Regions from separate parts of the Homo sapiens genome. Here regions 1, 2, 3, 5, 6 and 7 are each linked to region 4. Evidence: promoter capture Hi-C in 16 types of primary human blood cells and fetal thymus (Javierre and others, 2016). All regions are on one chromosome and are shown on one strand. Each heading gives the region's core, a stretch centred on a gene start or on the middle of the fragment in contact. The rest is flanking DNA. Distances are from core to core; before and after follow the strand shown.

The links. Contacts are between HindIII fragments. The CHiCAGO score rates a contact against its expected background, and 5 or more counts as called.
Region 1: a fragment that was not itself captured here is called in contact with the fragment with the promoter of CEP78 in region 4 in 1 of 17 cell types (fetal thymus); the score reaches 5.0 in fetal thymus.
Region 2: a fragment that was not itself captured here is called in contact with the fragment with the promoter of CEP78 in region 4 in 5 of 17 cell types (total CD4 T cells, naive CD4 T cells, non-activated CD4 T cells and 2 more); the score reaches 6.7 in total CD4 T cells.
Region 3: a contact is called between a fragment that was not itself captured here and the fragment with the promoter of CEP78 in region 4, in 2 of 17 cell types (monocytes and non-activated CD4 T cells). The highest score is 6.0, in monocytes.
Region 5: a fragment that was not itself captured here is called in contact with the fragment with the promoter of CEP78 in region 4 in 1 of 17 cell types (activated CD4 T cells); the score reaches 5.5 in activated CD4 T cells.
Region 6: a contact is called between a fragment that was not itself captured here and the fragment with the promoter of CEP78 in region 4, in 6 of 17 cell types (naive CD4 T cells, total CD4 T cells, monocytes and 3 more). The highest score is 8.3, in naive CD4 T cells.
Region 7: a fragment that was not itself captured here is called in contact with the fragment with the promoter of CEP78 in region 4 in 1 of 17 cell types (M2 macrophages); the score reaches 5.7 in M2 macrophages.

The regions. Positions count from the first base shown.
Region 1 is chr9:77,746,964-77,751,009 of GRCh38, reverse strand. All of the region lies in intron 5 of GNAQ (G protein subunit alpha q), which reads left to right. Among named protein-coding and RNA genes, the nearest start is that of GNA14, 100 kb to the right of the region's middle. The HindIII fragment of the contact is 592 bases long and covers 1,957-2,548 here.
Region 2 is chr9:77,822,123-77,825,694 of GRCh38, reverse strand. All of the region lies in intron 2 of GNAQ (G protein subunit alpha q), which reads left to right. Among named protein-coding and RNA genes, the nearest start is that of GNA14, 180 kb to the right of the region's middle. The HindIII fragment of the contact is 1,591 bases long and covers 1,380-2,970 here.
Region 3 is chr9:77,801,410-77,805,351 of GRCh38, reverse strand. The region is part of intron 3 of GNAQ (G protein subunit alpha q); the gene reads left to right. Among named protein-coding and RNA genes, the nearest start is that of GNA14, 160 kb to the right of the region's middle. The HindIII fragment of the contact is 620 bases long and covers 1,357-1,976 here.
Region 4 is chr9:78,233,666-78,237,603 of GRCh38, reverse strand. CEP78 (centrosomal protein 78) reads right to left here and starts at 1,529. Exons shown (of 17, transcript NM_001330691.3): 1 at 1,001-1,529. The coding sequence starts at 1,253. RefSeq lists a silencer at 1,136-1,505 and an enhancer at 1,131-1,800. The HindIII fragment of the contact is 10,697 bases long and covers 1-3,938 here.
Region 5 is chr9:77,723,759-77,727,664 of GRCh38, reverse strand. All of the region lies in intron 6 of GNAQ (G protein subunit alpha q), which reads left to right. Among named protein-coding and RNA genes, the nearest start is that of GNA14, 77 kb to the right of the region's middle. The HindIII fragment of the contact is 493 bases long and covers 1,073-1,565 here.
Region 6 is chr9:77,838,036-77,841,796 of GRCh38, reverse strand. The region is part of intron 2 of GNAQ (G protein subunit alpha q); the gene reads left to right. Among named protein-coding and RNA genes, the nearest start is that of GNA14, 190 kb to the right of the region's middle. The HindIII fragment of the contact is 1,480 bases long and covers 551-2,030 here.
Region 7 is chr9:77,773,623-77,777,162 of GRCh38, reverse strand. The region is part of intron 5 of GNAQ (G protein subunit alpha q); the gene reads left to right. Among named protein-coding and RNA genes, the nearest start is that of GNA14, 130 kb to the right of the region's middle. The HindIII fragment of the contact is 2,647 bases long and covers 172-2,818 here.

The sequences.
Region 1 (4,046 bases), core at 1,003-3,502, 490 kb after region 4:
GTGCTGGGTCTCCACTTATTAGACTCATGAGTTGGTATGTATTTACAGCACTGTACAGTAGCACCATCTTCACAGGTTAGATAAATGCCTATTTTCACTGTTGTTCAAAATGTTCATTTTAACCAACAAAAATTTATTGATCACCTGCCACAGCAAGGTGTTGTTTGGGTGTTGGGGGAGTGTATAGAAATAAGTATGATACAGAGTTGAGCTCCAAGAAGCTCAGTCAGTCAGGGTTGGTATAATATTTACATGACCAATTACAAAGAAAAGCCCAGGGAGGTTAATATAGCAAGTGTTCTTAACAAGCCATACGTGATTTCAGGGGAGGGAGGGATTTTTTTTTCCAGCTTGATGACTGGGAAGACTTCAAGAAAGAGTTAGAAATAAAGGTAATAAAACAAAAAATATGTAAGCATATTCAGGAAGTTTGAGCTGTGCCATTTGGCTGGAATGGAGGTTATGAGGTCGACTTCTGTATACCATCTTGAAAATGACTTTCACTGACTCATAAATTTTCTAAATTACATAATGATGATAACATGATCATTACTAGTGGGATTATATTATCACAAAAACCTCTTACATTTAAAATGTTCTTATTAAGGCCCCATCTGTATTTGCTAATTAAGTAAAACTGTATTATGATTAAAACTGCATGGAAGAGGCAGAATGCTTTGTTTGCTTGGTTTTCATATTTTACATTTAAGAAAGATTGAATATCAAAAACATCTGTTTCTGATAATCCTATAACAGAGTTTTTAGTCCATGCATTAGAAATCTTTTGGTATTGGTAGAAAGAATTTTGCAAGATTTCTTCTTTAATATTAATTTGGTATTTATAAAAGAAAATATGTTTATAGCTGATTTTCAGTGGAAATAATATTTTTTAAAGATGTACCTTATGTGACTAATTAAATGTTCTTTGCCAATCAGCACATCTGCAGCCAGATTTCAAAACTATATATTCATTTGGCCACAGAGACTTTTTAGCCCAATCTTGCAAAATATTTGCTATTGTAGTATAATTGAGAATAAAACAGTCTAAATTAGTGAAGAAATACAGAATATGAACAATTACAATGTATGAAAAAAATATACACAATATTTTTTTCATCACATCAAAACCCATTTACTGGGTCGTAAAATCAATTTAATAGGTCTTGTTAGCATTTTTTTATAGGGAGGATGGGATGGAATTGAGAATAGAGTACATTGCATGTTGTAAGGAAAAGTATGGTTTCATGAAATGTTAGTTTTATATGTCTGTGTTTCTGTGTGTGAATATACTGGATTGCTGTGTAAACTGTATTTCTTACTGTGGATTGTTATCATTAGTTTGAAAACATTATTTTAGAGAAATACCAATTTGTGTATAGTATGTGGAATTAACCCTTCACCTATTGTCCTGGAAGACCCATCCAAGTCCCAGTATTAGCAACTAGAGAAAAATTATATGCATTTAGTATATTATTTATGGAAATAAATGTTTCTGAAGTCCTCAGTTCTCAGCAAAAACTTGTTCCTGTACAAGACATTCCTGGGAAACCTAAACAAAGAGAAAAGGAAGGATAGAAGGATCTGCTAACATATTTAAAGCCTTCTGCCTGTTTTCCTGAATAACATTCTACCACCTGGTTAAGGGTGTTTATTTATAGTAAGGAGTACACGGGGGTGAAATGCCCAAGACCCCTCACTTTATAAGGTCTTAACTGGCATCAGCTCGTTGCTTCTGTACAGTGGAGCCTCATTCCTCACAAGGTATTGGTTTGAGTGGGATGTTTTGACTTAGACCCAAAGCAAGAATGGGTCCATGGCAGCCAGGGGGAGAGAGAAAATGCCAAAACTATGGAAAGGATTGAGAACCTGGCGGCAGTGAAGAGTGAAGACCCCACAGCCTTCCCAAATGCTAAGGTCGAGAACATGGGGCAGGGAGGTAGGTCTAGAGCCAAAGCTTGAAGCCTGAAGTGTTGGATGCAGTCAACCACTGGAAATCTGTCAGAAGCCAGTGTCCCAGCCAGAAATATGGCCTTCCTTCAGAACTCCCCCTTTCCCTTTCTTACCCTGAGGAGTCATTCCATCCCTGTGTTCAACTTTTTTATACTGGTGGAATCTGGCTTATAACAGGACCAGTCCGATACAACATCTGGACTGGCTCCAGTACCTGGATCATACCTCACTTGTGGGCCAAAATCCAATTATTAAACACTTGTCATTTATATTTACTTTGTAATTTATTAAACATTTGTCATGTTCTTGCTGTGCTACCTATTTTCATATTCTATCTGACAATAACAGTTGACATTTTCTCTCAAGAAGTGGAGAGAGCTGGAAAATTCAGCAAAGAAGGGTTAAATAACTTTTCCTTTAGCCAGTGCTTTCAAAGATGCCCCAACCCTAGAATTACAGATACCACTTAGGCTACTAAGCTAGGCTGTTGTTTGAAACTGACCTACTTCTGTCATCCTCCACAGTTGTCTTAATGGGAGGCAATTTATGCCCCACATTTACTGTAGTGCTTGCAGAAGGCATCAAGCTCTACAAAGCTTCATGCTTGTCCTTAAAAGTTAATTGGGAGCATCAGGGGAGGAGTGAGTGCTGGGAACAGCTATTTCCATTTCCCAGAACAGTAGTTGAATCCTCTCATCTTTCCAGGGTAATTTTAGGAAAACCTCAGTCATTTACTCTACTTTCATTGCCTAGATTTTAGGTTTTCAGTACTTTGAAATGACAGCTTTTCAAAAAGATACTACCTAAAGAGAAATGAGATGTAGATTTAAACAAAAGATGAATATTGAAGTAATCCATTTAAGATAATAGCTGAAAATATTTATTCCGTTATTATGTCTTTCACTGGATTTTATTTCATCTGAAAATGTTAGATAGAGGAGACTCTGGATTTGGAAACTGGACCCCAGAGTGGTGAAAGGACTTCCCAAGAGGTGGCCTTGGGACCAGGCTAAGAACTCAGTTCTCCTGACCACCCCTCTCTATGCCACATTGTCCTGCTAGATCTAAACATGAGGAATGTTCACATGGATGATGTCACCAATTGACACCATCCAACATGGCTTAATAGAAAAACCATGGACTTGTAGCCAGGGAAATTCAAACTTAAGTCTTTATCTCACAAGGTTGCATGAACTAATTGAGGTAGCATGTGAAGCACCTAGCGCAGAGCAGATGTTCAAGAAATTAGGTCCCACACGGGAATTACAACCTGAAGACACATTCTAAAGGTAGGAAAGTTTGTCACTAATTCTTTCTCGCCTTCTCTTCCTGTTGTCTAGCTGGTGCTATGGGTGGGTGCATGGAGTCTTCAGGCTGCCCTCAGAATACCTAAAGTTTTCTCAATACAGTGTATGTCAAACTTCATTCCATGCATCATCCCATTCTGTGCCTGTTTTTCATTTAAATTAAGGGTCTTTGGACCATTCCTGCTGGCTTTGCTAATCTTATAAACTGATGTTTATGAAAATGGTAATAACTAAAGCTAGATAATGTCTTAGAATGTCAAGTCTTCAGTTAAAGATACTTGATCTCATTAGAGTAGTCTTCCCAGTCTTACTTTTTACTGATCTCCTCTACCTTTTTCAGTATGAAAAGTCTTCTTCATAACAGGGTATTCAGGATCAAAAGTAGGAGTTAAAAGGTTCTGGTTTTCTCTGTGACATTTATCAAACTCTGCACCATGAGTCACTCCCAGCAATGAGCTTGTCTGCTGCTTTGTTGTCTTGCCTTTTGATGTTTCTGTTACATTTAAAATATAAAATAAATGTATTATTTTCTTAGAATATATTTATTATTTTAATAACTAAGGTAATATATGTTCATTATTTAAAATTCCACATACATAGAAGGCTACAGAAGAGAGTGAAAACTCTCCTGTGTTTCCACTCTACCTCCCCCATTTTAAAATTTGGGTAACTACCACCAGCTGTTTCATATGTATCTTCTTCCCAGAACTGTATTTTACACCTGAACCAGTATATCTTTTTTTAAGTTTAAAAATCAATCAGTTTGTATTTTTATCAAATAATGGTTTA
Region 2 (3,572 bases), core at 926-3,425, 410 kb after region 4:
TATTTCTAGATTCTGCCTTTGCAGTTAAACAGACTTCTCACTTTACACTTGGTTGAGTCTGATATCCCTTCCCAGATGCATTGTTAACTGCATCTCTCTTTCAAAGACAGCGTGTGGGCATTCCTGCTAATATGGAGTAAGCTGGGACAAAAGTGACTAGGGGCAGCCAAACTCTTCCAGTCTGAAAGATGGTGGAGAAGCATGTGGTGCTGCTGCCTTTACCGTCTGCTTGAATCAGCTAGTCATGCTATGGTCTGGCGTGTAGGCTGCCAGGTCCACGAAGACACCACACTTCTGTGAGTAGGGTCAGTGGGCAGTTGCTAGGTGTATGTGAAATGTGTGTGGAAAATGAAGGCTGAAGCAGTCTTACTGTGGAGGTATGAAAGATTTTGCTTTATCATTTATTGTTTGGTATAAATCTGTTGTATTGTTTGATAATGCTTTTATTTTGCAGCAGATCTTTTTGGCCATAATAAGTTTTTTTAGAAACTTGAAAATGCATGTTTAACAAAAAATTAAGTACTGTATTTTTGTTTCTAAAGAAAGTTGATAATGTGTAATTCATATAAAATTATTTATCAGTACTTAACATTCACCATTGTAGCCATGAATATAATCAACCACACAAAATACGAAAGACACAAATCTTCTGCTTCAAGAGTTCGCTGTTATTTTCAGAAGACTGTGCCCAAAGATGACATTTTAGCATGTGCAGCAGCAGAGAATGCATTTTTATATCACTCTGTGAAGCATGACTTTTTGTTTAGATCAAATGACTTTCTTTCCGAGTTAATTTAGCTCATTTTTATTCCAGGTTTTCTTATGCATGTACAAAAAAATGAAGCAATAGCAATTAATCTGTTAATTCTCTTAGCAGAAGAAAAACTTTGCAGGTAATTGATGGTTTGTTTTTTCTTCATTAATTCATGGAATCGAGATGAAGCTTTTAGAAGTTCATGCTGATAAAGTGAAATATCCAACATGGTTTTGATTGCTACAGTAAATGCTTTTGCTTCTTTAAAAAATTTTAAAAGTCATTGTTCAAAGTAATGTATTTTGTGGTAATGATACGAGTATAATTTTTCATGGAGCATAGTGTCATGGTAAAATACTGTATGTATTAAATTAATAAACTAGTGGACCAGAAATATTCTTAGAATAGTTATGGCTCACACATAAATCACAGTTGTATCCAAACAAGCTGCAATAATCTATTTATGAGTTTCATCTCCTAAACATATTTGTGAAATAATACTATTCTGAACTAATACCGAAAGATAGTTCTATGAAAATATTTGAACTGAGATATTTATGTCTTTCCATTTGAAAAACATAATAGAGTGAGATTACTTACCATTCAGCAGACCTTGTTCTAAGCTTACCAAGTATCTGAACCAACAAGAGAGGCCGTTTCTGAATTAAAACTATTAAGGTCTACCAAGAAGAGCATGGTTGAAAATGTTAACAGTTTCAAATTTATTGACCTAAAATAGTTAAGGCAATTTTTAAGAATGTTACAAACAATTCTATGAAATAGTTAAATACATAATATGTCAATATTGAAAAAATATAGTTCTCTGAAGGATGTTAGGGACATGATGTTAGAAAGAGATATGGCTAAGAACATGACTAAAGTACATGAAGGTACCAAGAAAAGTATTTCTGCTCATTTTTTACTTTAAAATCTACATTGATTTATCAAAAGTTTATATTTTAGGAAGATTTTATATTTTGAAAAATTTTTTAATGTGCACACTTCCTTGAATAATATCAATGTAATAAAATAGATTTGCTGGTCAATAAATACTTTAAAGACATACAACATTGATATGGTTTGGCTCTGTGTCCCCACCCAAACCTCATCTTAAATTGTAATCCCCACTTGTTGGGGGAAGGGCCTCATGGGAGGTGATTGAATCGTGGGGACAGATTTCCCCTTTGCTGTTCTCATGATAGTGAGTGAGTTCTCATGAGATCTGATCGTTTAAAAGTGTGTGGCACCTCCCGCTTCTCTGTCTCTCCTGCTCTACCACGGTAAGACGTGCTTGCTTCCCCTTCACCTTCCACCATGATTGTAAGTTTCCTGAGGCCTCCCATTCATGCTTCCTATACAGCCTGCAGAACCGTGAGTCAGTTAACCTCTTTTCTTCATAAATTATCCAGTCTCAGGTAGTTCTTTATAGCAGTGTGAGAACAGGTTAATACAAACATTAACTGTTTTGGTAGCCTTTTTAATACTCAAAAGTGTTAGTAGACTATAACTATATTATTATACTCTCAGTGGAAAGTTAACAGTTTCTCAGCAGTGGTCCAGGTAACTTTTTACACTTCTTATCTATAATATTTTCAAAATTTGGGTCTTTATTTAAAGTGACAAATTATATAACTTACTACAAAAAAACCAGGCCTTGTAGGATGTGAGTTATTTTCCTTCCCTTCTTCCTACTTAAATTCTAGGCCAGGCGTGGTGGCTCACGCCTGTAATCCCAGCACTTTGGGAGGCTGAGATGGGCAGATCATGAGGTCAGGAGATTGAGACCATCCTGGCTAACACGGTGAAACCCCATCTCTACTAAAAATACAAAAAATTAGCCGGGCGTTGTGGCAGACGCCTGTAGTCCCAGCTACTCAGGAGGCTGAGGCAGGAGAATGGCATGAACCCGGGAGGCGGAGCTTGCAGTGAGCCGAGATTTGCCACTGCACTCCAGCCTGCCAGCCTGGGTGACAGACCAAGACTCCTTCTCAAAGAAAAAAAAAAAAACAACTTCTAAATGCTTCATTACCGTTTTTCATAGGATAAAGAGGTATTGTTTTTGTTTCTTTATTTTTATTAATGGAACAGTTTCTGGCTCTGTTAAAGGGGCATTTAAGCAAGGTATTCTAAAAGCTCTATTCCTTCCCCAAGATTCTAGGAAAGTGAGCCTTTTACTTTCAGTTTTTCCTAACACAATTTCTTGAATGTCTGAAGCTTCAGTGGTCAGATTTCACATGGGATGTTCCAGAAAGATGATATTCCCTATGTAAGACTCTGAAATTCTTGGGAGCATTTGGGCCTTTTTTTTTTTTTTTTAATCAAAAAGCTTGTTCTTTTTATTTTTTCGCCTGTCTGAATTCTACCAACTGAACAGGGAAATCTTCTTTATCTGTTTTTCCTGTTGTCAAATAAAATAAAATTCCAAACCAGCAGCAACATACTCCTCTGGTTAATGAGATTGTAGGAGCACAGACATTACAAAGGACTAAAATGATTAGGCTTTTTCTGAGGTATAATATCAGGAAATGAACCACATAACATTATGTGATCTCAGAAATGAAGATGATATGAATCTATAAAGCAGGCATTTACCTATTATGCCAGGGTGGGGAGAAATCAGTCAATGAGTTGTTTTGTTGGTATAAAATCAACCTACAGTTGGTTGTTAGGGGTCTCAGTCTCTAGTCAGTGTTTTCAAAACATGATTTAATTCACCAACAGTCTCGTCAACAGATCTGGAGGCAAAAAAAGCTTCCATGGTCAAACAAGTTTGGAAAATTCAATAATATCCCCAATGCTAGGCTCATGGATTTATAGC
Region 3 (3,942 bases), core at 417-2,916, 430 kb after region 4:
TCTAACACGTATGTCAGGTATCAAAAAGGAAAAAGGAAAGTTGATTTGCTCTCTGCAAAATGAGCTTTTTAGGAGATGGAAGTGTTTGTGGAGTGAGCAATCTTGTGCCACTAACCATCCTAACCAGATTACCAGCCAGGCTCCTGTCAGCCACAGGATTTGCCAGATGAGGAAGGGACTAGAGTAGGTTATGCTACCAAAACCTCTCCTTGACTCTCCCCTCAAGATACCAGTTTTGCAGAACTGTTACTTCTTCATTTGTTTTTGCAGGTCACTTTACAATTTTTTTTTCACTTTTTTCCTTTGGACTTTTGTGGTCATATAGCAACTGCACGATAACTGTGTGTTTCTGATTTCTCTTTAGCTTCCAGTGCTTTTGATAGTGTCAGACACCGTCTCATGGCATGATCTAGCTTTCAACTCCCCAAAGACTGTTCCTCTCACAATGAGGTCTTCTTAATTTTTTTAAATGAAGTCGACCTCGTTTTTCTAACCTTCTTTTCAATAATTAAAAATGTGAAGACCTACCCAGAATCATTTTCTGTGCCATAACTTCATCTTAATATTTGACGTGAACTGCAAATTTGTTATAAATGCAGCCTCTCTATAGGAGGCCCTTACATAGGGGTCAAAGAGCTCCCCAACCTCCAACACACACCCCGTGTCATGCTACATTGAAAGCCCCAAGATGCGATTTCATTTATCCTATTGTGTCTGGTTGGATTTGCATGAAATTTCAGAGATTTCTGTTCCTACTTAACTATCCACAGGTACTTTTTGCCTTTTGGTGTGATTACTGAGGGTTGTATGCCTCTAACTTTAATATATGTATTTAGAGTCAGGGTCTTACTGTGTTGCCCAAGCTGGAGTGCAGTGGTTACACCCTGAAACTCCTGGGTTCAAGCAATCTTTCTGCCTCACAGCCTTCCAAGTAGCTGGGACTGTAGGCACATGCCGCCACACCTGGCTTATAAAATTTATTAACCCTAGCTATAATGTGATATGTTTTACCTGCCAGCTCATATCTCTAAATTTTAATTTTTTGTTTCCTTCATTTAAGAGAAAACAAAGCACTTGAATTTTTAATTTCTGTGCTATTCTTGGTCTAGATTTCAGTTACTCTTCCAGTCATAGGTGGGGGGAGGGGTGGTTCTTTTTAATCTTAAAAAGAGACTTTTAAAAATCAGTTTGCATTCATGTCAAATGGGAGCATAAATTAATTTGAAGGTCACCTCAAAACTGTTATTGATAAAGTGTCAAAATTAAGGAACAATTGGAATCTCTTTTTAAAACATAAGAGAGAAAGTGTTGTATGTAATATTGATTTGGGCATATTATTTTAGAGAAGTTGAAGCTTCTGTCATATATTTTAATCATTTAAAGTAGTGGATTATGTCCTGTTTCTGAATTTATTTTTCTTCAGCCAGAGATTATCCTGACATTCAGCGTGTAAAGAATTTATCTGTTACAAGGTGTAAACTAATGGGCATGATTTCTGTTAAGTCTTTCATGCAGTGCAGCCATACTACACAGAAGAATGTTTTGAGGATTATCACCAAGGGCTAGAGATTGTTCGAACAGGTTCCCAGAAAGTGACTGTATCCAAAATATACAAAGGTTCATTTCATCTCTATAAATCTCACCATTCTTGTTTTTATGTAACCCTTATTTCCCCACAAATTGATAAACTCCTTGCAGGTAAGGATCATATCCAATGAATCTTCCTATCTGTAGCATCTACCATAATGTCATGGCCAAAATATGTTGTTTAATTCCAGATGACTCTGCATTTTGCTTATGGTCAGAAAGGAATCACTGAAACATTAATATGCAAGTGTCTGTGTTCCCTCACTTTTCACAGAAAACCATCAAAAACCTTTTTTCCATCAAGAAGATTGTGTCAGAAATGTCTTGTTGATAAAGTCCCACCTCCTCAGTTTGCACTGTGTTAGACAGAATGCTAAGGCCTGAAAGCTTGAAACAGGTATAAAATGGACATAAACATTTTGTCATTCTCTAGCCAGGACCTAAAGAATAGCAGGAAGCAAATCTACTAAATGAAGTTAAACAAATAATGCTTTCTCTTTCTGTGTTGTCTTTGTCAGAGACATTTTTATTCAGAACTTGGTTATTACATGATGCAGGCCAGTAATAGCCGAGAGAAGTAATTTCGTAAGGATGGATAGCTAACAACCTCCCCTCTCCTGTGTTTTTGCCTTTCTAACCACTACAGCACTTCCCATAAAATAGTTTTAATTTGGGTCCATGCTGAGCACCTGCTGTGCTCCAGGCCCTTGGCTAAGTGTTGTTGATATAGCCGTGGACAAAGGCACTTGTGGGCCCTGACCACCGAGTGTGAGGGCCATAGCTAACTGGGCAAACATGTGGAAGAATATTGAGCTCGGGGTTTCTTTTTTTAAAAAAAATTATAAATTAATAATTTATAATGTCTCAGCACAGTGAAAAGTCATTAAATCCCCATGGAGGGATTGGAGTAAGGTGGGTTTAAGCAGCTAAATCTCCCATTTTCTAACATGAATAGCTTGTCTCCTAGACACTTAACAAGCCTTATGTAAAACATGGGAGCTTCCTCTCCCTGACATCAGGAGAGAGTCACTACCAGATACTTGTTACACATACATTGCCTTGGAAATGTACCTGTGCCTGGCACCATGGCAACACCCTTGAGAATGACCTCAACAGCCACTCAGAATCATTCCTACAAAACAAATTATGGCTATAATTAACTCTGAATTTACAGTATAAATTTGTTCAGACCTCGGTGTGGTTTTTTTTTTAAAAGGTCGAATGAATGGAATAATTTAACATGAACCTGTCCCTCATATTCCACCAATTTTTTTTTTAGAATAGAAAATGCTTCAATGGAAAGTACAATTCAGTTAAGAGATTATTTTATTACCTTTTCTCAGTATGTGACGAGGACCATCAAATGATGATGTTCTACTCTTACCATGCTAGAACTCCATTTCTAGGGGAACAAAGTTCCCTTTTTCCCTGGCAGATGTGAAATACAGAGTGTGCTGAATCCCTCCTCTGAGTCCTGTGAGCCCAGAGTGAGGGGGGTTGCATGGGATTGGGGGTTATGCGGGCAGCAGCTCTTTGATCCCTTCTTGGCAATGAAAAATGCAGGGTTTTTTTGTTTTTTGTTTTGTTTTTGTTTTTTTGAGACAGAGTCTCACTCTGTTGCCCAGGCTGGAGTGCAGTGGTGCAATGGTGGCTCACTGCAACCTCTACCTGCCAGGTTCAAGCGATTCTCATGCCTAAGCCTCCGATGTAGCTGACATTTCAGGTATGCATCACCACACCCAGTTAATTTTTGTATTTTTAGTAGAGATGGGGTTTCACCATGTTGTCCAGGCTGGTCTCAAACTCCTGGCCTCAAGTGATCTGGGCTTCCCAAAGTGCTAGGATTATAGGTGTGAGCCACTGCGCCCAGCCAAAAATGTCGTTCGTGGTCTATAAATTTTACCTGCTTCACAAATTGTCTGTAACATATCTTCAATCCTGGGTAGCTTCCCAGATTTTACTCTAGGAGCAAATAGTTTGTATGTCTTTTGTTTAGTTGGAGGTTTTGTTGTTTTTCTTTGCCTTGTTTTGGGTTTTTGTTTGGTTTGGTTTTTGGTTCTAGATGATGTATGTTGGAACTAGCAGAGCTAGATACAGTTCCTCTTAGTCTTGTCTTTTGTTAAGCTAGATTAATTTAACTCTTTCACCCCAAGCAAAGTGAGCCTTTCTCTCTATTATTCAACTGAGGCAAAGCAAAAAGAATGGCAAGCAAAAACTGCAGCTTCCTTTTAAGTTAACCAGAAATTTATGAAGCGTCTTTAATGGCCATTTCATTGCTGTGAACTGTGTTGATACCTGGGCAATGAACAGACAGAACAGAGCCTGGCAGGCATCAGGTGCTCAGTGTTATTTGTT
Region 4 (3,938 bases), core at 280-2,779:
CTCAACTCTCTCTGCTCTTTCTCAAACCTAAATTCCAGTCCTGTAACTCAGCTTGCATACTCTCTCCTATTTCCAAAACTTTTGCACAAACTGTTCCTTCCTGTTACCTAGCTAGCGTCTATAGGAAGCTGCCTCCATTATGTAGAAAATGCTAAGTGCTCAAAGGAATAACAGCATTTTGTCATATATCATAGTTGACCTAACATATTTTCCGAATAATCAGAGAGTCTGGATCCCTAATTATACCACTATACATTTACAAATGGCTTGTATTTGTAAAGCACTTTACAAACTTCTTATATACACCTTAAAAAATGAAGACAGGCCGGGCGCGGTGGCTCATGCCTGTAATCCCAGCACTTTGGAAGGCCGAAGCGGGCGGATCACCTGAGGTCAGGAGTTCGAGACCAGCCTGGCTAACATGGTGAAACCCCATCTCTACTAAAAATACAAAAATTAGCCGGGCATGGTGGCGCGCGCCTGTAATCCCAGCTACTCGGGAGGTTGAGGCAGGAGAATCACTTGAACCCGGGAGGCGGAGGTTGCAGTGAGCCGAGATCTTGCCACTGCATTCCAGCCTGGGCGACAGAGTGAAACAGTGTCTCAAAAAAAAAAAAAAAAAAAAAAAAAAAAAGACAAAGGCTGACATGTATTAATTTCCTACCTGCTTAGTTCTCTATCAGGCAAATCAAAGTCATTCAATAAAATAGGTAACATCTGTCAAATGTTTAATGATGTCCCAAACTGTGCTAAGAGCTCTGCAGGCATCAGCAGCGCAGGGAATCCTTGCGAAGGCGCACATAACCTGGGTCTCGTTATTAAGCCCATGTTACGGATGAGCACACTGAAGCCCTAGAGACCTTAAGCCACTCACCTAGCTCGTGAGTGTCCAGGCCGCACACCCCTTCTATTGCACACATACCCCGACAATGGACACCACTCACCTAAAAACCCACTTCGCCGCACCGACTGAGGGGCCCTGGAGGCGGGAACTACAAACCTGTGTCCCCCAGCCAGGGCTGGAAGAAGCTCTTGATGGAGACCAAGGGCAGGTCTTTATTGATCTTGAGGGTGCTCAGCAGAGGCGCCCAGTCCACCCCGCGGAGGCGGTCGGCGTTGAAATCCAGCACGCCCTCCCGGAGACAGGCGCGCACGGCGGGCAGCGGCACCGAGTTCTGCAGCGCGCACAGGTACTCGTAGTGGGAGAAGAAGTCCGCCGCGCTGTCGCGGCGCAGCTTCACGGAGTCGATCATGGCCCGAGGGCGGCCTCGGGGGATGCCCGCCGCGGAGACGCCGCCCGCGCCCACCCAAGAACGCTGAGTCGCAACCCGGCCGCTCCGGCACCCACGGCCAGGCGATAGCGGCAGCCCCGCACCGGGCTCAGGAGCGGTGATTCGGTCGGAAGACGCAAGGCCAGAGCCCCAAGCTAGGCCGGCCCCTCAACGCCCCACTCCCGCGCTGCCTCCCGCCCTGCGGCCCAAGCAGTTGGCGCCCGCCTCATAGTCCTCTGAGGCGCCGGGATTCAAGCCGGTGGGCGGTGCCGTGGAACGGTGCGCCAAGACGTCAACGTGCTCGCTGTGCGTCGGCACGCAGGTCCCGCCTCCTGAGGACGGGTGAGTTCGCTGCTACCTGAGATAGTGGTCGGGAGAGTTTGAGGGTTTGCGAAAGAGTTTACTGATCGATCCGAATAAAAGTGAAATGTGTGGTCGGGCGCGGTGGCCCACGCCTGTAATCCCAGCACTGTGTGAGGCGGGGGCGAGCGGATCACCTGGGGTCAGGAGTTCGAGACCAGCCTGGCCAACATGGCGAAACCCCGTCTCAATTAAAAATACAAACATTAGCCGGGCATGGTGGCGGGCGCCTGTAATCCCAGCTACTCGCCTGTAATCCCAGCTGAGGAAGGAAAATCGCTAGAACCCGGGAGGCGGAGGCTGCAGTGAGCCGAGATCTTGCCATTGCACTCCAGCCTGGGCGACAAGAGCGAAACTCCGTCTCAAAAAAAGAAAGAAAATAAAAAGTGAAATGTGGATGTAACAACGCACTTTTAAAAAAAGTCTAAACATCTGAGGAATGTGTCTGTGCTTGCAGTGTCCAGCCAGCACAGAGACTGCACTCAAGGGATGTGGGAACGGCTGATTGAACGTGAACTGCGGTCATTAAATCTTTTATGTCTGTGTTAATATCTACAAATAAGCCTTAATTTCTGTAGTTTCTGCATATCTCACACGGTTCCTGGCAAATTGAAGAGTGTTTCATGAATTCAGGACTTTATTGTGTTTGCTGTGAATCAGTTTGTTTTGTACTGACGATGATGTTGGCTAACTCCCTTGTAACTAGTACTTATTTGAAATAATGTCCTCGGGATTATTTTAAGCAATGTTTAAGTATGAAATCATTTCATTCTCCTAACATCTCAAGGAATATACTATTATATTCTACTTTACAAAAGGGGAAACTGAGGAACGGGGAAGTTAAGTGGAAGCTAAGTGGAAGAATCCAGATAATTGACCTCTCCTTCTATTGGTATGCAATTGCTAGAGCAATGATAGTCCTCCGGTAGAGCCTTAGACATTGTGTTTATTGCATTCCTGTTCCACCCACTGCATTCCGGATACTCCAACTTACTTCCAACACACATATGCAGGCGTCTCTAAAATTCCGGAGATATGGTCACCAATTATTTTTATGTGCGACATGCTCAAATCTTAATATAGTAAACGCTTGTATATTCATAAACCAGCTTAATAAATGAAACATTACCATTCCTGTTGAAGAGCTTTGTGTAACCACCTTCCCAATCACGACTACTCTCTGACTCTGAGATAACTGCTCTTCTGAACTTGGTATTCATCGTTGCAATGTATGTCTTTATATTTCTGCTACATATGTAAGTAAGCAGTATATAACATTCTATATTTTCTTTTCCTACTTTACTTATCGTTACCTTTACTAGGTCCATCCGTGTTGACATATAGAGATATTCATTTATTTTCCCTGTTGTTATATGGGAGTTCCATGTAGAAACATACAGTAATGTGTCTGTTTTTCTGTTGATGGTAATTTAAATTGTTTCCAACTTTACGATTTCTTTGTTGCTCTATCCATTTTCTTTCTAGTCTCCAGCATCAATTAATGTAGTGTCCATTACCTTTTTAAAGCTCCCTCCTCCCTGTTTCCCATGAAGCCACCTGATTTCTTTTTCTTTACCTCTCGAATTTCTTCTTCTCAGTCTCATTCTTTGGCTTCTCTTGCATATCCACTCTAAATATTGCTGTTCGTCAGGTTTCTACCCTCAGCTTTCACCCCTTCTGACATTTTACAGTTTCTCTGGGTGTTCTTGTCTTCTGCTCAGCCTTAACTTCCCCACTCTAGGCAGATTACTTCTAACACAGATAGATCTCTTCATCCATTAAATTGCCCCCTAGAAAGCCAAGATTTCTCACTGCCCTCAGTGTCAGATCTATGTCACGTAGCTTGACATACAAGCTCCTTCATAATTTGACTATCTCTGTTGTCTCTCTCCTTGCTACATTCTTCCTGGCATGTCTTCTCTAGATACACAGAACTGCTTGAACTTTCTGATGTCCTATTGTTGCTGTCTGGGTCTTTTCATAGGCTGCTCCTTTATTTAGTCGGCTAACTTCCATTCTTTTCCCAGCCTTGGTTTGGGGCACCTTCCCTAGAAAGCCTGTTTCTCTCTAACCCTCATCTCTCCTCCCTTGCTTGTTTAGCACCTCACTGCTGTGCTCCCTGACATCCCTGTAGCATAACACTTAGAACATCCAATGATAAACATCTTTTTAGATGGTTTTCCTTCCAGAGTCTGAAAGCCCTTTGAAGGCAAGAACCATGTCTCATTCATGCTTACATTCCCTATGCCTAGCACAGTGTTAGCACAGAGAAAGTGCTAACTAATGACTAATTGTAGGAACATTCTT
Region 5 (3,906 bases), core at 70-2,569, 510 kb after region 4:
CACGTAGGACACTTATGAATACTCAGGAAATACTTCCTTTTTTGAAACTTCATAGCCCAATGAAGTCCCACCACCATTACTAATAGTAACCCAGTGTTAAGCTCTTTGTGCAGCACTTAGAATCTATAGCATCCACTTCACTACTCCTATGGCTCTGCATTATTTGCTTTGTTCTTAGAAAAGGATCTTACCCTCCCCAACTAGACTGTGAAATCCTGGACAACTAGACACCCAACCCATTCTGAGAAACACTTGAACACTTGGTGATTGGTAACAAAATGCATCCACATGTAGCCACTATGTAAAACAAGTGAGAGTCACGACTGCTGCCCTATAAGAGTCTATGTGGCCAGGTGTGGTGATTCACACCTGTAATCCCAGCACTTTGGGAGACTGAGGTGAGAGGATCACTTGAGCACAGGAGTTCAAGCCCAGCCTGGGCAATGTAACGAGACCTCTATCTATAAAAAATGAGGCAGGAGTTGGCAAGAGGTCAAGACTGCAATGAGCCATGATCCTGCCACTATACTCCTGCCTGGGTGATGGGAGACCCTGTCTCAAAAAAAAAAAAAAAAAAGTTTATTTATTTGGCAAGATAATCACATCTCTCCCTTATGGCCCACCACCTGGTTTTATGAATAAAGTTTTATTGAGACATAGCCACACCCATTCATTATACACTGTCTATGGCTGCTTTCACACCATAACAGCAGAATTGGATAATTGTGACAGAGATAGAATTGTTTGCAAAGCCTCAATTACTCTGTGGCCCTTTACAGAGAAAGTTTGCCAAGCCGTGGTCTAGATAGTTAAGAGCACAAGCTCTGAAAAGTTCCACTTTGCCACTCACTGTCTGTGTTGCCTCAGACAAATTTATTTAGCTACTCAGTTTATCCCTGGGCAAGAAAGAATTGAATGGAATCATACATATATCACATAGCAGAAACCCAAAAGTATCTACCATAGAGGTGATATAACAACAAGAGAAGAGACTATTTTTAAAATTACATTGTCAACATATGATATCCAGGATGGATATCATTCCACAGTGTTTTTGTACTTACTAAAAGCTTCCTCAGAAAAGTAATTACTTTAAAAACCAAGATTAAATTTAGCTTCATAGCTTTCTATGATGATACAAACACATCAGGGATGGAGGTTTAGTCATCTTTTCATCCCACATGGAATGTGGTACAGTCCTGGCTCATGAAAGGGAAATGTTACATGTTAAATGAATTGAAGTTCCCTTCTCAAATACATGTAAGATCCTGAAGGTTGGTGAATTGAAAATATAAACATTTGTGGATGTCACCAGATGTTAGAAATGGTACCTTTTGTTAGCATTGTGTTCATATCCTCTCTTCAAGTACATTTTCCTTTGTGCTTTGCTGTTCTTTGAAAAACACTTTCTCAGTCTAAACAGTGTTTTCTCTTTCACTCCTTTTAATTTGCACTAGCCCGGAAACAAATCATCAATGCCTGAGACTGCACTTCTCAGTGTTGCTCAGAAAACTATGGAAGGAAGTGACTGTGTGGGTAGTTAACTTGCTTTCCCACCTCAAGCTTCAAACACATCTACCTGAATACAGTAGGCATGAAACATCTGGCTTAGATCTAAACACGCTTGCCTGCCACACACACACACACACTCGAGGTTCTTCTTAATTTTTCTTGGAACTTGGTAAGAATCAGCGTGTGAGAAATTGCCACACCATACACAACACCCCATCTTGTGGGCTGGCACGTTTTCATGATGTGCTTGCATAAGGGAGGATGCAGAACAGATAGAGCATGGTGCCCACGGAGGTGAACCCTTCTGAGGGGTTCATTCAAACTTCTCAGATGCAGCATACCTAGCCACACTTCACAGTTGCTGATTTTTCCGCAATAAAAGACTTAGTTTGTGATCAGTGCTTGCAGTGCTGTTTTTTGATCTCTGCACCATCTTCCTAATCTCTTCACGTACCTCCTTTCTCCAATAATTTCCCCAGATTCCCCACCACTACAAGCATTTTCCTTCCAGCATGTGCCCATTGTGAATATTCTGAAATCTGAAGACTTTTTTTTTTTTTTTTTTTTTTTTTTACTGTTACCTTACCCCAGTATACATATAATGCACAGAGGAAACTTGGCCACAGAAAAAGAAAAAAGACATTGATTTTGTTATTACAAAGCCAGCGCAGCAGTCATTACGTGAAACTCCAAGCCCTTGTAAGATGAGCAAACACTGAAAAAATTGAGGCCCACTCTGCAGTGATGTTTTTGTAATAAGCATGTTTATAGTATTATAAATTTCACACTTCCACATTTCTATACTTACAAGGTCTTAATCATAATGAATGCCATTTCTGTATTTCTCTTCAAGAAAGGAAATTACCCTTTCCACATGGACTTGAATTGCAAGATTGTTCATAGAGACTGTGGAATTCTGCTCCTGCTGTGATGGCTGTAATGAGTTCTTTGTAGTGTATGTTTATTCAGATAACAATTTATGCTTAAAAACATAACACTTTTCAAGTACACTTCAGTGAACTTGGATCTAGTTCTTATATTCTGTAGGGTAAATAAAAAAGAAAAAAAAAAGGTATAGTCCCTTCCTTCCCAAATAGAGTAAGTACAAAATCATACAGAAGTTCATTCAGAAGCCAGAAATATAATGTTCTTTTTATGAAATGAGAGACTTCTCCAGCTCTGGTAATCTGTTACTTTCTGGTTTTGAATAGTTTTTATTACTTCTCTGGAGTTAATAGTACATTGAAAAAGATGGAACATTAATTATATATATATTTGCTTGTATATATACTTTACATATTGTTTTTAATTGTACTTTTTATCTATTAAATATGATGCCAGCCCTCTTAGTCATTAAAAAAATTGAATTCTGGGCACCTACATCAAAAATTCAACATTACTTTTTTAAATTGTACAAATGAGGATAGTCTATTTGTTTTTATAATTCTTTCCTCCCATCTTCTGGCATTATCAGATATAAGTTTATTGGAGTAATCTCCAATTTATAAAAAGGTTGGTTTGAGAATAATTCAAGTCAGCTGTCTGAAGCTCAGGGTGCATTTTGTTAGAAATGGTGGTCAAGCCCTCAATAGAGTTCTGCAAGATCTCTTTATCCCTACTAGTAGGTAACAAGAATATTGATGATAGAAAAAAACCTGCTGGGTGTGGTGGCTCACGCCTGTAATCTCAGCACTTTGGGAGGCCAAGGTGGGCGGATCCCTTGAGGCCAGGAGTTGAAGACCAGCCTGGTCAACATGGCAAAACCCTGTCTCTTCTCTTCTAAAAATACAAAAATTAGCTGGGCATGGTGGTGCACGCCTGTAGTCCCAGCTACCCACGAGGCTGAGGCAGGAGATTTCGCTTGAACCCAGGAGGTGGAGGTTGCAGTGAGCCAAGATCATGGCACTGCACTCCAGCCTGGGCAACACAGTGAAACTCTGTCTCAAGGAAAAAAAAAAGTTTCTTATTGCTTGGTATAGAACTAACTTGAAAAAATAGGAGGAAATGCATATATAAAGCAACACAAAGACAGATATATGATACGTATCCAATACTTGAAAGGTGATGGTGTTTTGATGTTATTTACAGTAAGTTTTAAGTTAATATATCTATCGGTACCTATTAAATACACTTTTAAAACAGCTTTATTGAGATTATTTATATACCATGTAATTCACTTATTTAAAGTGTACAATTCAGTGGGTTTTGATATAGTACTTTTTTTAATTATAAAATTTGCCATTTTAACATTTTTAAGTGCACAATTCATAAAAGGCATTAATTACACTCACAATACTGTGCAGCCATCACCAGTATTTTCAAAATATTTTCACCACCCCAATTAAGCAGCAACACCCCATTTCCTTCCTCCCCCTAACCCTTGGAAACCTCTAA
Region 6 (3,761 bases), core at 41-2,540, 400 kb after region 4:
GAGTATTAAGGATGGTGTCTAGTCAGAGTCTTCCATATAATGAACGTAGTCCTGTGTCAGAGGAGTTTGACCAGTGCCAAACTGTGCGTTGCATAGTTTACATATTATTTGTTTCACTTACTCATTTATGTGTTTACATATAATAGTTGGGCACAACCCTTGATAAATCTAAAATAATAATGATTCTTGTAGCTTCATTTGATATACAAATTCTAGGATGCAGCTAAGTTGGAGGCAAAGGGGGAAGAAGAACCTTAGAATAAAATATAATTCCTGAAAGGAACATTTATACCAAATTGCAGTGATTTTGTCCAATTTATTGTGAGAAAATTGCCGAATACTGATTGTTCCATTGCCAATCATTTCTCTGTGGCCGTGCTGGTTTAAATATATACTGAGAGCTTTGGGCTTTTTTCCTCCCATTTGCCCTTGCAGGAAATGTCAATGTAAAATTTGACTCCAGTGTGAGATGCTGGATAATTGTTTATTTAAATGCTTCCAATGTCTATTTTTACTGCAAGCCTCTCACCACAAAGCAGTTAAGAAAGCTTCTCTAATATATGTGTTATACATTCGGAGTTTTCTTTTTTTCTTTTATAGGTAAGCATAAACTCCCATGGGGGCAGAAAATATTACGAAAATTCTTTGTATGTGTGTCTGTGCTTCAATACAATTTGGTTGGGCTGGGGTTTTTTTGTTTGTTTGTTTTTTTAACATGAATACATGAGGTGTGATATCTGGGCTTCACGTGTAACAGTATGAGCTCAGCAGTGACTGGTAGAGGGAGTGCTGTTTCTTCTACCATGTGTCTTCCCCAGAGTCCAGTTAATACTCCTTGTATAGTGCTCAGGAGTGGCCTATCGGTCTGCTTTCCCTACCTGTGTCCCTTTCATCTCTCTCCAGTGCTCTCCCTGAAGGGAAGAGTATGAATTGTGACCCTGGGCTCAGATAAAGGAACTGCCCCACGAACTTAAGGTCTATGCCCAAATCATCATCTTCTCACCCCTTCCCTAGAGACAAACACATTGTCATGATCTAGACTATAAAATCAACAATGGAAGACTGATAATTCATTTATTCTTTTTTTCTTTTTTGTTTTAAAGTATTTGATTCAGATGTAAGACCAAACATGTTATATATGTTATAAAACAATCAAATGCAGCCAGGTGCAGTGGCTCACTCCTGTAATCCCAGCACTTTGGGAGGCCGAGGCAAACGGTTCACCTGAGGTCAGGAGTTCCAGACCAGCCTGGCCAACATGGTGAAACCCCATCTCTACTAAAAATACAAAAGTTAGCCAGGTGTGGTGGCGCATGCCTGTAATCCCAGCTACTTGGGAGGCTGAGGCAGGAGAATTGCTTGAACCTGGGAGACAGAGGTTACAGTGAGCCAAGATTATGCCACTGTACTCCGACTCCGACTCCGTCTAAAAAAAAAAAAAAACAAAAAGTAATCAAATGCACACATCTGCACCAAATACCCATTTGAGAATGAGGACAGAGATAATAAACTTGCATCTATCTACATGCTAATTCATTCATTGTTTTTTGAAGGAGGTAATGTTCTATTTAGAAGTATACCAATTATTTCATGTCACCAGACTGTATCTTTAGAGAAGCCATTATTCAACCAACCATTTACTGAATACACTATGCATCCAAAATGGCAAAGGAAGAACTATAACATTTTCTTAAAAAATGAAACATGTACTTTGGAGCATTTGCAGAGGAAAACGCACGGGTTCCCAGACAGGAAAAATGAATTAAAGATGAATCACTGAGTCATTTGGAAAGGTTATGCTCTCCATTTGCCTGTGAAGAAAATAAAACAGTCCAAAGTTCAACTTGGCTCTCAGAAGTCTCAGAAGTGTTAAGAAACAAAGCTCTCTGTCATCATAACTTGGCACAGGAATGCTAAAGTATTAGGGAAGGCATTTTTGGGTTAATGTTCTAATTAGATACATAGTTCTTATGTATTTTTCAGCACTTAACCCACTATGGAGTAAGGTACTTTTTCTTAAATAGAAAGCTTCCACCCACCTAAATTTAATAACAGTGTTTCCTCCAAGTTAAAGTATAGCCACGCTAGTGATCAACCCATACCTTCTTGCCCTTCTGGTTATCTCCAGTTCTTGGAGCCTCGTTCAAGTTATGGCCCACATGATGCTTCAGGGCAGGCAGCCCATGCTGCTGCTCTATCACTGGCAGTGCCATGAGGATTTCAGTACCACAGGGAAGCACATACTGGAATGCAGAACGTTACCTTTTTCGGGAAACCTGTATTTAAAATCAAATGAGGAATCTGAAGGCTATAATTTGGAAGTTTAAAATTTCTTACCCTTCTCTCCCCAGTATACTTAGCCCAGGACTTTGGATTCCTGGTACCAGTCTCTGGATAAAGTTGAGAGATGTAATGATTTATGGATAGTGGAAATTGTCATATCAACCCTACTTTAATTATCTTAGTCTCAAACAAGCTAATGAAGGGTTGTCTGAAATAAAGTAGTTTTTGAATGGCCATCCCATTTTACTGTAAAAATTGAAGCTCTTGATCAGTCAAGTCTAACTTCTAGTTTTGATTAACCAATGATTCAGTAAGAACTTTGATTATTCACCAGCTGCTGTAGCAGCTAACAACATATTGCTGTTCACCACGAGGCCTGGGGGAATAAGAGAGATGGAGTCTGAGAACTAGAAGTGAAGGGTTCTACTGGAGGCATCAGGGAAGGGAAAGAGGCAGTTCCCAACCCAGCCAGTATGGACCCCAAAGAAGAAGATGGTGAAGAGGGTACCATATGACTACTCTTCTCTTAATGAAGAGTCAGGTCTCAGAAACTAAAGTTTTGGGAGTTTTTTTACAGTAGATTTTTTTTTTCCTCATCAGAGTCACAAAGACTATCTAGAAATCATCTTCTCTTCAGAATTGCCACTAAAAATCTCAGCAGCATCCAAGTGAAAACTGTTAGGGTTCTCTTTTTAATGTATACATTTATATATATATATTAAATTGTACAAGTAATGTAGCTCTTTGTAGACAAATCAGAAAATGCTGCAGCAAGTATCAATTTAAAAATTCTTGTGGCCGGGCACGGTGGCTCACCCCTGTAATCCCAGCACTTTGCAAGGCCGAGGTGGGTGGATCACCTGAGGTCAGGAGTTTGAGACCAGCCTAGCTAACATGGTGAAACCCCAATTCTACCCCATTTCTACTTGGGTTCTATTTCCCATCATGAGGCAGAAATATAGTTGCTTCCCACCCAGAAAACGAATTATATATTTTGGATTGTTTGGGCACACAGATTTCATAACACAAAACTGAAAATACGTGAGCAACAACGTTTTACTTTAAGGATCTTGGCTGGGCGTGGTGGCTCATGCCTGTAATCCCAGCACTTTGGGAGGCAAGGTGGGCGGATCACCTGAGGTCGGGAGTTCGAGACCAGCCTGACCAACGTGGAGAAACCCCATCTCTACTAAAAATGCAAAATTAGCTGGGCGTGGTGGTGCGTGCCTATAATCCCAGCTACTCGGAAGGCTGAGGCAGAAGAAACACTTGAACCCAGGAGGTGGAGGTTGCGGTGACTCAAGATTGCGCCATTGCACTCCAGCTTGGGCAACAAGAGTGAGACTCCTTCTCAAAAAAAAAAAAAAAAAAAAAAATCATTAATGCCTGTAATCCCAGGACTTTGCAAGGCCGAGGTTGGTGGATCACCTGAGGTCAGGAGTTCAAGACCAGCCTGACCAACATGGTGAAACCCTGTC
Region 7 (3,540 bases), core at 246-2,745, 460 kb after region 4:
CCCAGAACCATTTACTATAAGACTGTTCTTTCCACATTGGATTGTCTTGGCCCCCATGTTGAAAACCAGGTGATCGTGAACATAAAGTTTTATTTCTGAATTCTCAGTTCTATTACACTGATGCACATGTCTTTTTTTAAGTCAATACCACACTGTCTTTTGTAGTAAGCTTTGAAATTAGAAAGTATGGGTCCTTCACCTATATTCTTCTTTAAGATTGTTTTGACTATTTGAGTCCTTTACATTTCCACATAAATTTTAAGATCAGCTTGTGAGTTTCTGCCAAAAAAAAAAAAAAAGGCACCTGGGATTTGATAGGGATGATGTTGACTATGTAGATCAGTTTGGGGAATACTGCCACCTGAACATGCGAGAAGATGTATATTCTGCTGTTGTTCAGTAGCATGTTCTATTGATATATGTTAGCTGTAGTTGGATTACAGTATTTTTCATTGTGTTTTTGTTTGTGGATATTCTGCCTTTTTGTTCTATACATTATTGAAAGTGAATCTTGAAGTCTCAAACTGTTGTTGAATTGTCTGTTTCTTCTTTCAGTTTTGTCAATTTTTGCTTCATGTGTTTTGGGGCTCTATTGTTCAGTGCACAAATTGTTATTGCACTATTATTGCACATAAGCATACAATTGTTATGCCTACTTGATTGACTTAACCTTTATTATATGTACTTATTTGTCTCTAGTAATAATTTTTACCCTGAAGTCTGTTTTGTCTGATATTAGTCTAGCTCTCTTTTGGTTACTGTTTGCATGGTACGTCATCTTCTGTCCTTTTTCTTTCAATGTGTCTTTTAATCTAAATTGTGTCTCTTGTAGCCAGCATGTAGTTTGGTCATTTTCTAATTCATTTTGCCTATCTCTGTCTATTGACTAACGTATTTAGTTCATTTACATTTAATATGTTACTTTTGGTTTTCACAGCTACTGTGGCTGAGAAGCTGTTGGTTTTCTAGGCTATTGCAGAGCTGGAAAAGGGAGATGGGAGGAACACAAGTTGCACAAAACAAGCTATTGTCACCTAGATTCAGCTGTTTTTCTTGAATAAATGTTATGTTGTTGCAAGCCTGTGGTTAATTTCCAGATATCTGAAAAAGTTGATATTGACAATTTTTGCCACTTTTGTGGAAAGATAGATTTTTAGAGGTCCTTATTCCACCATTCCATAAGTTTGTCTCTAAATTGAATTTTTTTCTTTTTCTTTTCTTTTATTTTTTATTTGTTTGATACAGAGTCGTGCTCTGTCACCCAGGTTGGAGTGCAGTGGCACATTCTCGGCTCACTGCAGGTTCCATCTGCTGGGTTCAAGTGATTCTTGTGCCTCAGCGCCCCAAGTATCTAAACTGAATTTTAAAAGTAAATCTCAGCATGCCATAATTACGGAAACACAATTGATGAGTGAAAGTGCCTTTTTACTTGCTAGAATGGCAAAGATAAAAAGAGAGATGAGGAGGCTGGGCGTGGTGGCTCATGCCTGTAATCCCAGCACTTTGGGAGGCCGAGGCAGGCTGATCACGTCAAGAGATCGAGACCATGGTGAAACCCCGTCTCTACTAAAAATACAAAAAAAAATTTAGCTGGGCGTGGTGGCGGGCGCCTATAGTCCCAGCTACTCGGGAGGCTGAGGCAGGAGAATGGCGTGAACCCGGGAGGCAGAGCTTGCAGTGAGCTGATATCACGCCACTGTACTCCAGCCTGGGTGATAGAGCGAGACTCTGTCTCAAAAAAAAAAAAAAAAAAGAGAGATGAGGAGAAGTGAACATTCTTAGATACTGTTAATAGGAGGATAAATTGGTACAATCTGCCAGTAGTATGACAATATATAAAATCTTTTGAGGTGTTTATACCCTTTGATCCAGTAATGCCACTGGTAGAAATGTTATTGCTAATTGTAGTTAGTAGGTTACATGTCCCAAAGACAACATTGCTCAAAGTTGTTAACAATGAAAATAATTAAATTATCCAATTGTAGGAAATCGATTAACAAATTCAGAGTACACCTAAAAAATAAAATACTATGCAGATGCTAAAAATGGTAATATAGATGTATAATTAATATTGGACAGAAAGTCGCTCATGATATATTGATGTAAATAATTTCAAAACAGCACGTACAGCATGCATCTGATTTTTAAAGACATATAATACAGATATTTATTATAGGTGCATACATATATGCCTGGAAGATTAATTCAGACTGTTAGCAGGGATTATTTCTGAATAGTTGGGGTAAAGGTCATTTTGTTTTTATGTTTTATTTATTTTACTTACCTGCATTTTTAAATTTTTACATGAACAATCCATTTTACATGGATTAAAGAAATAATGATTATCTTAAAAGATAAGAAATCTTAAAGATTAAAATCTAATAAAATAAAAGTAAGCTGAGCTGGGCATGGTGGCTCAAACCTGTAATGCCAGCACTTTTGGAGGCCAAGGCAGAAAGATGACTTCAGGCTAGGAGTTGGAGTCCAACCTGGACAACAGAGTGAGACCCTGTCTCTACAAAAAATATAAAGAAATTTGCTGGGCATGTGGTACACACCTGTAGTCTTAGCTACTAGGGAGGCCAAAGCCAGAGGGTCACTTGAGCCCAGGAGTTTGAGGCTGCAGTGAGCTATGATTGTGCCACTACACTCCAGCCTGGGTGACAGAGCAAGAACCTGTCTCTCTATTTTTTCTTTTCTTTTATTTTTTTAAAAGGCATTTTAGGCAGCTTTCTCTTTTTCTGATTGGTTTCAGAAAGATAAGATGCAGTTACAAGCAAATGGAGAAATTAAGTACAAATGTCTGGTCCGAGAAGCTTAGCAAACGTAGCAGTATTAGTTCTAACATCCATTTTCTGTCAATTTATTGAAAATATCTTCAAAACTGATACATCTTTTAGAAGTAATACAAATTAAAGAGTTCATTGAAATAAAGGAGATAGTTTTATGACACCAAGATTTATCTCCACACTTGTTCCTTCATCTTAGATGGAACAAATGCAGAGAGTGTAAAGCTTAAAATAACTATATGCTCTACAATGTAGATAATCAAATGAAAATGCTGTGGTCTCAAAGCCAGAGGAATGTGGACCACTTTGGTGGCCAAATTTAACCAGCTGAGGTCTTTCTTGAGTACCATCTGAGTCTTCCTTTTTAAAAAAAAAAAAGAAGAAGAAGAATTTGTCTTTTAGCAGGGAACCTACATTTTATAAAACTTTAAATCATTTGCTGTGGCTTTGTTATTCTATAATATCACTTTGGTTGGGACACCAAGCTCAATAATTAATAAAGGGTCTGGATTTCGTGAAATGTTCTTCAGAGAGCCTAGATTAAGATCCAGGGGCAGTATAATATATGTGCCATTCTTCAGGTCTTATTCTGCCTCAGTTAAATCTCCTACAGTAACATCTCTAACATGTTTTCACACGGGAACCTATGAAGAAAAGCAGCATATTTTTGAATTGCCAATGAATATAATGTGAATCGTCACTTTAAAATGGGAACAAGAAAAAAGTGTAGTGTCTTTTGTGGAACATTAGT